Linked DNA regions of Homo sapiens: region 2 is linked to region 1. The links are contacts of gene promoters, found by promoter capture Hi-C in blood cells and fetal thymus (Javierre and others, 2016). All regions are on one chromosome and are shown on one strand. Each heading gives the region's core, a stretch centred on a gene start or on the middle of the fragment in contact. The rest is flanking DNA. Distances are from core to core; before and after follow the strand shown.

Region 1 (4,476 bases), core at 1,539-4,038:
GGAGGCCGAGGCGGGTGGATCACCCGAGGTCAGGAGTTCGAGACCAGCCTGGCCAACATGGTGAAACCCCGTCTCTACTAAAAACACAAAAAAATGAGCTGGACATGGTGGTGGGTACCTGTAATCCCAGCTACCTGGGAGGCTGAGGCAGGAGAATGGCTTGAACTCAGGAGGCAGAGGTTGTAGTGAACCGAGATCGTGTCACTGCACTCCAGCCTGGGTGACACAGCAAGACTCCCTATCAAAAAAAAAAAAGAAAAGAAAAGAAAAGAAAAGAAAAGAAAAGAAATGGGCCAACCGTAAAGAAGACTTTCTACGTTTGCTAGGAAGGTTGCATAGACTTCAGTAGGTTTGATGTTTCAAGAGGTCTGGGTTTGTAATTCCGAACAGGGACAATGGAAATATTTTAGAATTGAGCAAACATGTAATGATATTTTGCATAATGAAAGCCAAGTCTCTTTTTTTTATTTTGAGACAGAGTCTCGCTCTGTCGCCCACGCTGGAGTGCAGTGGTGCGATCCCGGCTCACTGCAAGCTTTGCCTCCCGGGTTCATGCCATTCTCCTGCCTCAGCCTCCCAAGTAGCTGGGACTACAGGCACCTGCCACCATGCCCGGCTGATTTTTTGTATTAGTACAGACGGGGTTTCACCGTGTTAGCCAGGATGGTCTCCATCTCCTGACCTTGTGATCCGCCCACCTCGGCCTCCCAAAGTGCTGGGATTACAGGCATGAGCCACAGCGCCCGGCCAAGTCTCTCACTGTCAAAGAAGTCAGTTACAGGTTTGGAAAGATGGGGTACAGTGAACCTTGTCATGTTGGGTTCTAAGTGGAGGTATCTGGAGGATAGATAGATACAGATAGATAGATAAATGGTAATGTTAGATAGATAGAATTATATAGATGATGATAGAAATAGTTAGACAGACAGACACAGATAGATAGGGATGGGTAGGTAGATGGATGAATCAATGGACAGGTGGGTGTATAGGTGGAAGACAAGTGGATGGGTGGGTGGATGGGTGAGTGGATGGATGAATAAATGGATGAACAGATACACAGGTGAATGGGTGGATGGGTGGATGGATGCATGGATAGATGGATACATAGATGTGTACATGGATGGGTGGATGGATGGATGGATGAGTGGATGAAAGTGTGGGTGAATGCATAGGTGGATGGATGGTTTGATGGGTGGGTGGATGGATGTGTTGGTGGATGGATGGATAGATGGATAAGTGGATGAAAGGATGGGTGGGTGGATGAGTGAGTCAGTGGATAAATAAATGGATGAACAGATACATAGGTGAATGGATGGATGGATGGATGGATGGATGGATGCATGGATAGATGGATACGTAGATGTGTACATGGATGGGTGGGTGGGTGGATGGATGGGTGGATGGATGGATGGATGGATGGATGGATGGATAAGTGGATAAAAGTGTGGGTGAATGCATGGATAGATGGATGTATTGGTGGGTGGATGGGTGGATGGGTGGATGGATGGATGGATGGATGGATGGATGGATGGATGGATGGATAAGTGGATAAAAGTGTGGGTGAATGCATGGATAGATGGATGTATTGGTGGATGGATGGGTGGATGGGTGGATGGATGGATGGATGGATGGATAAGTGGATAAAAGTGTGGGTGAATGCATGGATAGATGGATGTATTGGTGGATGGATGGGTGGATGGATGGATGGATGGATAAGTGGATAAAAGTGTGGGTGAATGCATGGATAGATGGATGTATTGGTGGATGGATGGGTGGATGGATGGATGGATGGATAAGTGGATAAAAGTGTGGGTGAATGCATGGATGGATGGATGTATTGGTGGATGGATGGGTGGATGGGTGGATGGATGGATGGATGGATGGATAAGTGGATAAAAGTGTGGGTGAATGCATGGATAGATGGATGTATTGGTGGATGGATGGGTGGATGGATGGATGGATGGATAAGTGGATAAAAGTGTGGGTGAATGCATGGATGGATGGATGTATTGGTAGATGGATGGGTGGATGGGTGGATGGATGGATGGATGTATTGGTGGATGGATGGGTGGATGGGTGGATGGATGGATGGATGGATGATAGATGGGTGGATGGGAGGATGGATAGATAACAGCTGGGTGGATGGTGGATGGATGGATGAGTGAATGAAAGGTTGGGTGGACGGATGGCTGGGTGGGTTGATGGGTGGGTGAATGTATGAGTGGATGAATCGTTTGATAGATGGGTGGATGGATATATTAGTGGATGGATCAATGAATAATAGATGGATGGATAGTGGATGGATGGGTGATTAATGGGAAAAGATAGATGAGATACATTGATGGATAGATTAAAAATGAATATATCTACCAATCAATCAATCAATAGATAGACACACACACGCACACATACAGTTCCTAGTTCTGGCCACCGAAAGCTCATATAAGCAGTGGATATTCCGGGAGCAATAAGTATACTTAATATTCATGTATTTACTTATAAATATGTTTTGTCCCAGCTACTTGAGAAGCTGAGGCAGGAGAATTGCTTGAACCCGGAAAAAAAAAAAAAAAAAAAAGAAAAGAAGAAAGAAACCTCCATGCTCATTGTTTAAGTTTTACAAAATAAAGAGTGCCTGGTTGCAAAGCAAACCACAAACCAAAATACAACAAGAAGAGGGTGTTTAAATAATTACCTGCTCCTCCTTGCCCCAAAGCCATCCAGCCTCCCAGCAGAAAGACGGCAGCTCCCCACAGCAGAACCAGCCGCCCCATGCCTGAAACAGGAGTGGAGAGTGAGGTCCTCAGGGACCTACAACGAACAGATCACTCATGACTCATAAGCAGAGGTCACCATCGATTTTAAAAAGTCAGAAAGGAAACTAGGGAAATGATTACAGGCAGGAAGCACAGTGACAGTTGATTTTCAAAGATACACTTGTCAAGAACACACACACACACACACACACACACACACACAATCAATCCAGGATCAGGACTGCCACGCACACTGCTGAGCTGAGCCCTCCCCTTCCCTCCCCCTCCCCCATCTCCTCCCCCTCCCCTCCATTCCCTTCCCTCCCTCCCCCTCCCCTCCCCTCCCCTCCATTCCCTCCCCACTCCCCTCCCCTCCCCCTTCCCCTCCCCTCTCTTTCCTTCCTTTCCCTTCCCCTCCCCTCCCCTCTCCCCTCCCCTTCCCCCTCTCCCCTCCCCTTCCCCCTCCCCTCCCCTCCCTTCCCTTCCTTTCACTTCCCCTCCCCCTCCCCTCTCCCCTCCCCTCCATCCCCTCCCCTCCCCTCCCTTCCCTTCTGCCTCTCCCCCACCCCCTCCTCCCTCCCCTCCCCCTCCCCCTTCCCTTTCCTCCCCTCCCCTCCTCCTCCCCACCTCCCCTCCCCCTCCCCTCCCCCTTCCCTCCCCTCCCCCTTCCCTCCCCTCCCTTCCCTTCCTTTCCCTTCCCCTCCCTTCCCCTTCCCCCCCACCCCACCCCCTCCCTTCCCATCCCCCTCCCATCCCCTCATCTTTTGTCCCCCTCCCTTCCCCCACCCCCTCCACCTATCCCCTCCCCTCCCCTCCATGGATGGTATATGGATGGATGGATAAGTGGATGAAAGGATGTGTGGATAGGTGGGTGGATGGATGGATAAATGGATGAACAGATACATAGGTGGATGGGTGGATGGATGCATGCATAGATGGATACGTAGATGTGTACATCCCCTCCCCTCCCTTCCCCTCCCCCCTCCCCCCACCCCCTCCTCCCTCCCCTCTCCCTCCCCCTTCCGTCTCCTCCCCTCCCCCTCCCCTCTCCTCCCCTCCCCCTCCCCACCTCCCCTTCCTTTCTCTTGCTTTTCCTTTCTTTTTTTTTGAGCTGGAGTCTCACTCTCTGTCACCCAGGCTGGAGTGCAGTGGCACGATCTTGGCTCACTGCAACCTCCTCCTCCCGGGTTCAAGCGATTCTCCTGCCTCAGCCTCCTGAGTAGCTGGGATTACAGGCGCCCACCACCACGCCTGGCTAATTTTTATATTTTTAGTAGAGATGGGGTTTCACCATGTTGGCCAGGCTGGTCTCAAACTCCTGACTTCAAGTGATCGGCCCGCTTCAGCCTCTCAAAGTGCTGGGATTATAGGCGTGAGCCACCGTGCCCAGCTTTTCTTTCCTATTCTTTGAGACAAGGTGTTCGTCTGGTACCCACGCAGGAGTGTTGTGGTGCAATCAGGACTCACCACAGCCTCAAACAGCTTGGCTCAAGCAATCCTCTTGCCTCAACCTCCCTAGTAGCCGGGATTACAGATGCATGCCACCCACCCTGCTGATTTTTGTATTTTTCATAGAGACGGGGTTTCACCATGTTGACCAGGCTGGTCTCAAACTCCTGGACTCAGGTGATCCACCCGCCTCGACCTCCCAAAGTGCTGGGATTATAGGCGTTAGCCACCGCACCTGGCCTGAGCTTTGCTTGAAAGCATATCACAGAGC
Region 2 (4,390 bases), core at 444-2,943, 1.4 Mb after region 1:
TCCCCGGGCCCGGCGTTCCCTCCCCTTCCGTGCGCCAGTGGAGGCCGGGGTGGGGCGGGGCGGGGCAGGCGCAGCCTGGGCTGAGTTTGCAGGGCTGCTCCCCTCACCCAACCCCTTCGAGTCCTCCGCGGGCTCCGCCCCACCCGGCCCGTGGGGGAGGTTCCGTCCCGCCGCCTTCGCCCGCGCGCTGCACTCGCGGACGATCTCTGCTCGCCTTGGGCGCGCCGTGGCGCGCGGGGCCGTGCTGGCGCTGCGGCTCCTCGGCCTGCTCCGCCGTCTGGTGGCCGCCCCGGTGAGCGAGCGGCGGGATCCGGGTGGGAGGACGCGGGGGGTGGCGCGGGCTGGGCCTGGGGATCCGCCTGGGGATGTGGGGTGCAGGGGCGGGGCGCCCCGCGGGGACACCCGGCCCCTCTTCCGTGCCCGGCGGGACGCGCTGTGCCCACGGGGACCCAGGTCCGGAGGAGGCGCCCACTTTCTCCCCAGCGCTCTTCCTGGGGCCAGGTGGGAGCCGTTTCAGAGGAAAAAGCCAGCGTTTCTTTCGTAAACCAAAAAGTATCTGGGACAAGTCCCAATCCTTTTGAGTTGATTCGGCGAAGATCAGGAAGGAGCCCGGGAGACGGGTCTATGCCTTTCTCCAAAGATACTATTGAGAGCTTCGGTATTTAAAGGGGGAAAGCACGCTGGAGGGGAAAGAAGGAGGAAGGCTCATTTTACCGAATTCACCTGTTGCAAAAGAAAAGCAGCAGGTAGAATAGTCAATTATGTATTTGTCTTGCGCTCACTAAATTGGCACTTTACTAAGATAAGGTCAACAGAGAGTTATTGCACTGTCTGCTTGGGAACAGAAGGAAAGACAGCTTCCTGCCTGACTCAGCTTCCAGCTTTATTATTATTATTATTAATTATTTTGGCAGAGTGAACTGGGGTTCCAAGTTTTAATTTTCCTTCTACAGTTTGCAGAATCGCAAACTCTTAAATTTAGGGGAACCTGGGGAAGAGGTGGCATCCGATTCCCCCCCAACCCTGGTGACGTTCTTATGGATCTTATGGATACTGCAGTCTCTCTTCTCTTTCTGTCTCTCCTCTCTTCTCTTTCCTTTCTCTCTCTCCTCTTCTCTCCCTCTTCCTCTCTCTCTCCTCTCCTCTCTCTCTCTTCTCTCCTGTTCCCTCTCTCTCTTCTCTCTCTTCTTTCTCTCGCTTTTCTCTCTCCTCACTCTCCTCTCTCCCTCTCTCTCCCCTCTTTCCTCTTTCTCTCGCCTCTCTCTCACCTCTCTCCTCTCTCCCCTTTTCTCTCTCTCCCCCTCTTCTCTCTCTCCCCCTCTTCTTTCTCTCCTTTTCTCTCTCGTCTCTCTCTCCTCTCCTCTCTCCTCTCTCTCTCCTCTCCTCTCTCTCCTCTTTTCTCTCTCCCATCTCTCTCTCTCCTGTCTCCTTCTCTCTTGTCTCTCGCCTTTCTCCTCTCTCTATCTCCTCACTCTCTCCTTCTCTCTCCTCTCTCTCTTGTCTCTCTCCCGCCTCTCTCATCTATCTCCTCTCTCTCTCCCCCCTCTCCTCCCTCTCCTCTTTCTCTCCTCTATCTCCTCTCTCCCCCTCTTTCTCTCTCCTCTCTCTCTCTTACTCCCTCTTTTTCTGTCTCATGCTCATCTTTTACTGTTTTCACCTGAGGGAAGAGTGATGAGAAGATAGGAATTCACGTTTTCTGAAGTATTTAGAAACGTGGGGCCGTGGTGTTTTCTCCACCTGTTTTTGGGTCATTCCTTCCTCATTTCTCAGAACATTGGTATTAACAGCTCATTTCCCTCCTTTAAGGGCTGACTTTGACTTAGCGATGCCTTTCCTGATGGAGGAAACAGTGAGTAACTTTTTAAAGTCTCCTCTGTTGCTGACTTTGCTGATTGTCATTGAATTATTATCATTTTCAAGACATCTCTTTTGCGTGATAAATGGATTGAGTTTGGACAGTGGGAACATAGGAAGTATATGTGTTGTTTATTTTTGTTGTTGGATTTTTGATATATTTTTTTTTTGTTACCAGCATGCTGGTTTTTTTGTTTTTTTTGTTTTTTTTTTTTTTTGAAGTGTAGGTTCAGAGTCTCACTCTGTGGCCCAGGCTGGAGTGCGGTGGCGCGATCTCGGCTCACCGCAACCTCCGCCTCCTGGGCTTAAGCGATTCTTGTGCCTCAGCCTCCTGAGCATCTGGAATTACAGGCACCCACTACCACGCCCGGCTAATTTTTGTCTTTTTAGTAGGGGCTGGGTTTTGCCATGTGGAGCAGGCTGGTCTCTAACTCCTAAACTCAAGCTATGCACTCACCTTGGCCTCCCAAAGTGCTGGGATTATAGGTGCAAGCCATCACGCCCAGCCAGTATGCTGGCTTTTATTTTAAAATGGTTAGTCTTTGGAACAACGTAAGGCAAATGTGACTCCCTTGGCCAGGTCAGGCCTCGTGGGCATAGATCTGCGCAGTCACACAGGGACCTGTGCACACAAGGGTGCCATGCTGCTTTATTGCTGTGTTGCTGCCATCTTCAGATTCTTCATACAGTTGGAACAATGGGTCGCACATTTTCATTTTCACAGGCCCTCCCAAATTCTGGAGGTGGTCTGCACACCTGGTTTAGTTTTCTTTGAAAATACTTGAAGTTAAATCCTGTACCTGGAAGACAACAGAAGGGAATTGGCAGGAGGCTACGTGTATGGGTATCCCCACCATGACAAAAACAAGGGCCAGTTTTTACCTGTTTAGTGAACAGTCTCTGTGCAAATTGATATTTCAGTTTCTTTTCTCATCGCTATGGAAATTGATTTTTCATTTTCTGGTCGCTGTGGAAATTGATTTTTCATTTTCTTTTCTGGTCGCTATCAAAATTGATTTTTCATTTTCTGGTCGCTATGGAAATTGATTTTTCATTTTCTTGACTACTAGGTACTGATGATTGCAACTCTCATGTTTTACAAACAGGTGACCCAGCACCACCTAATGCCCCCAAACCAAAGCCAGATCCAAACCCCAACCGACCTGGTTTCACTGGTAAGAGCCTCTAACCCTACGGGTGGTCTCTATATTGTTTATTGTAACTTTATTTTATACTTATTCATAAGAATATTAATTCACATTTTCTCATGTTTTCTCATTTCTATCATATGACATTTACTGACAAATACTATTCTATCTAAATATATAATAAAATACATTAATTCCTTTAATCCCTAATGTTGAAAACATTGTGTCTTCTGACATTTTAGAATTATGAATTACAAAGCCAATTTGAGTCAACTTTGTCTACTCTTTTTCATTCCTTTGAAGAGATTTCTGGCATTCAAATTGTCTAGATCAATGCTCATGAGTACTTTTATAGCTTTTAACCTGGTTGGTTGTTTGCCCCAGAATTGCACCAATTTGATTTGATACCAGGGTGTCTGCAAATGTCCCTGTCTTCGAACCTTTTCCAGTAGCAATTATCACCTACAAAACCTTTGTCAAATAGTGTAATTATTATATCAAACCGGTCTTAGTTTTACATCTCTCATTCTGAAATGTAAAAAGCATAATGCATCCCAATGGGCCACGGAGACTTCTTCTTTTGTGTATTGGATGCTTTGGCTTTGATCCTTCAATTCATGGTGCCCGCCACCAGGCCCAGCTCATTTTTGTATTGTTAGTAGAGATGGGGTTTCACCATGTTGGCCAGGCTGGTCTGGAACTCCTGACCTCAGATGTTCTGCCTGCCTCAGCCTCCCTACCTACTGATGTATGAGCCTTCTTCAGTGATTTATCAATATTAAAGATTACCAGCCACTTATTATGAAAATGGTTTTGCACTTTATTTTTGCCTTTGAATATTTTTAACAGGAATGTTTTACAAGTGGTATGTTTATTTTTTTATGGTGTCTTATGTTTGTGTGGATATCCTGCTTTTTGTAACTTTTTTTCCTTTTAAATTGAGAATCATTTTGCTATTGTCCCTTCTCTTCAGAGAAGTAAAACCTTCTTTTTAATTTCATTTGAATTGTTTATCACCATAGGTTGATTGAAGGAATGGTAACACGTTTTCAATGTTGAGTTTTTTCTTTTATTTTCTTTCCTTTTTTTATTTTGGAGACAGAGTCTCTCTCTGTCGCCCGGGCTGGAGTGCAGTGGCGTGATCTTGGCTCAGTGCAACCTCCACTTCCTGGGTTCAAGCAATTCTCGTGCCTCAGCCTCCCAATTAGCTAGGATTACAAACATGCACCACCATGCCCGGCAAATTCTTGTATTTTCAGTAGAGACGGGGTTTTGCCATGTTAGCCAGGCTGATCTTGAACCCCTGACCTCAGGTGATCCGCCCATCTCAGCCTCTCAAAGTGCTGGGATTACAGGTGTGAGCCACCATGCCGGCCTGAGCTTTTTCT

The links. The method cuts DNA at HindIII sites, captures the fragments that hold promoters and counts their contacts. A CHiCAGO score of 5 or more calls a contact.
Region 2: a contact is called between a fragment that was not itself captured here and the fragment with the promoter of CRLF2 in region 1, in 3 of 17 cell types (total B cells, non-activated CD4 T cells and naive CD8 T cells). The highest score is 6.7, in total B cells.

The regions. Positions count from the first base shown.
Region 1 is chrX:1,209,861-1,214,336 of GRCh38, forward strand. CRLF2 (cytokine receptor like factor 2) reads right to left here and starts at 2,789. Exons shown (of 8, transcript NM_022148.4): 1 at 2,696-2,789. The coding sequence starts at 2,774. The HindIII fragment of the contact is 4,372 bases long and covers 534-4,476 here.
Region 2 is chrX:2,609,190-2,613,579 of GRCh38, forward strand. It overlaps MIR6089 (microRNA 6089), which reads left to right and starts at 2; the gene lies at 2-65. LINC00102 (long intergenic non-protein coding RNA 102) reads right to left here. Exons shown (of 2, transcript NR_037842.1): 2 at 3,802-4,390. It also overlaps the pseudogene CD99P1. The HindIII fragment of the contact is 6,762 bases long and covers 1-4,390 here.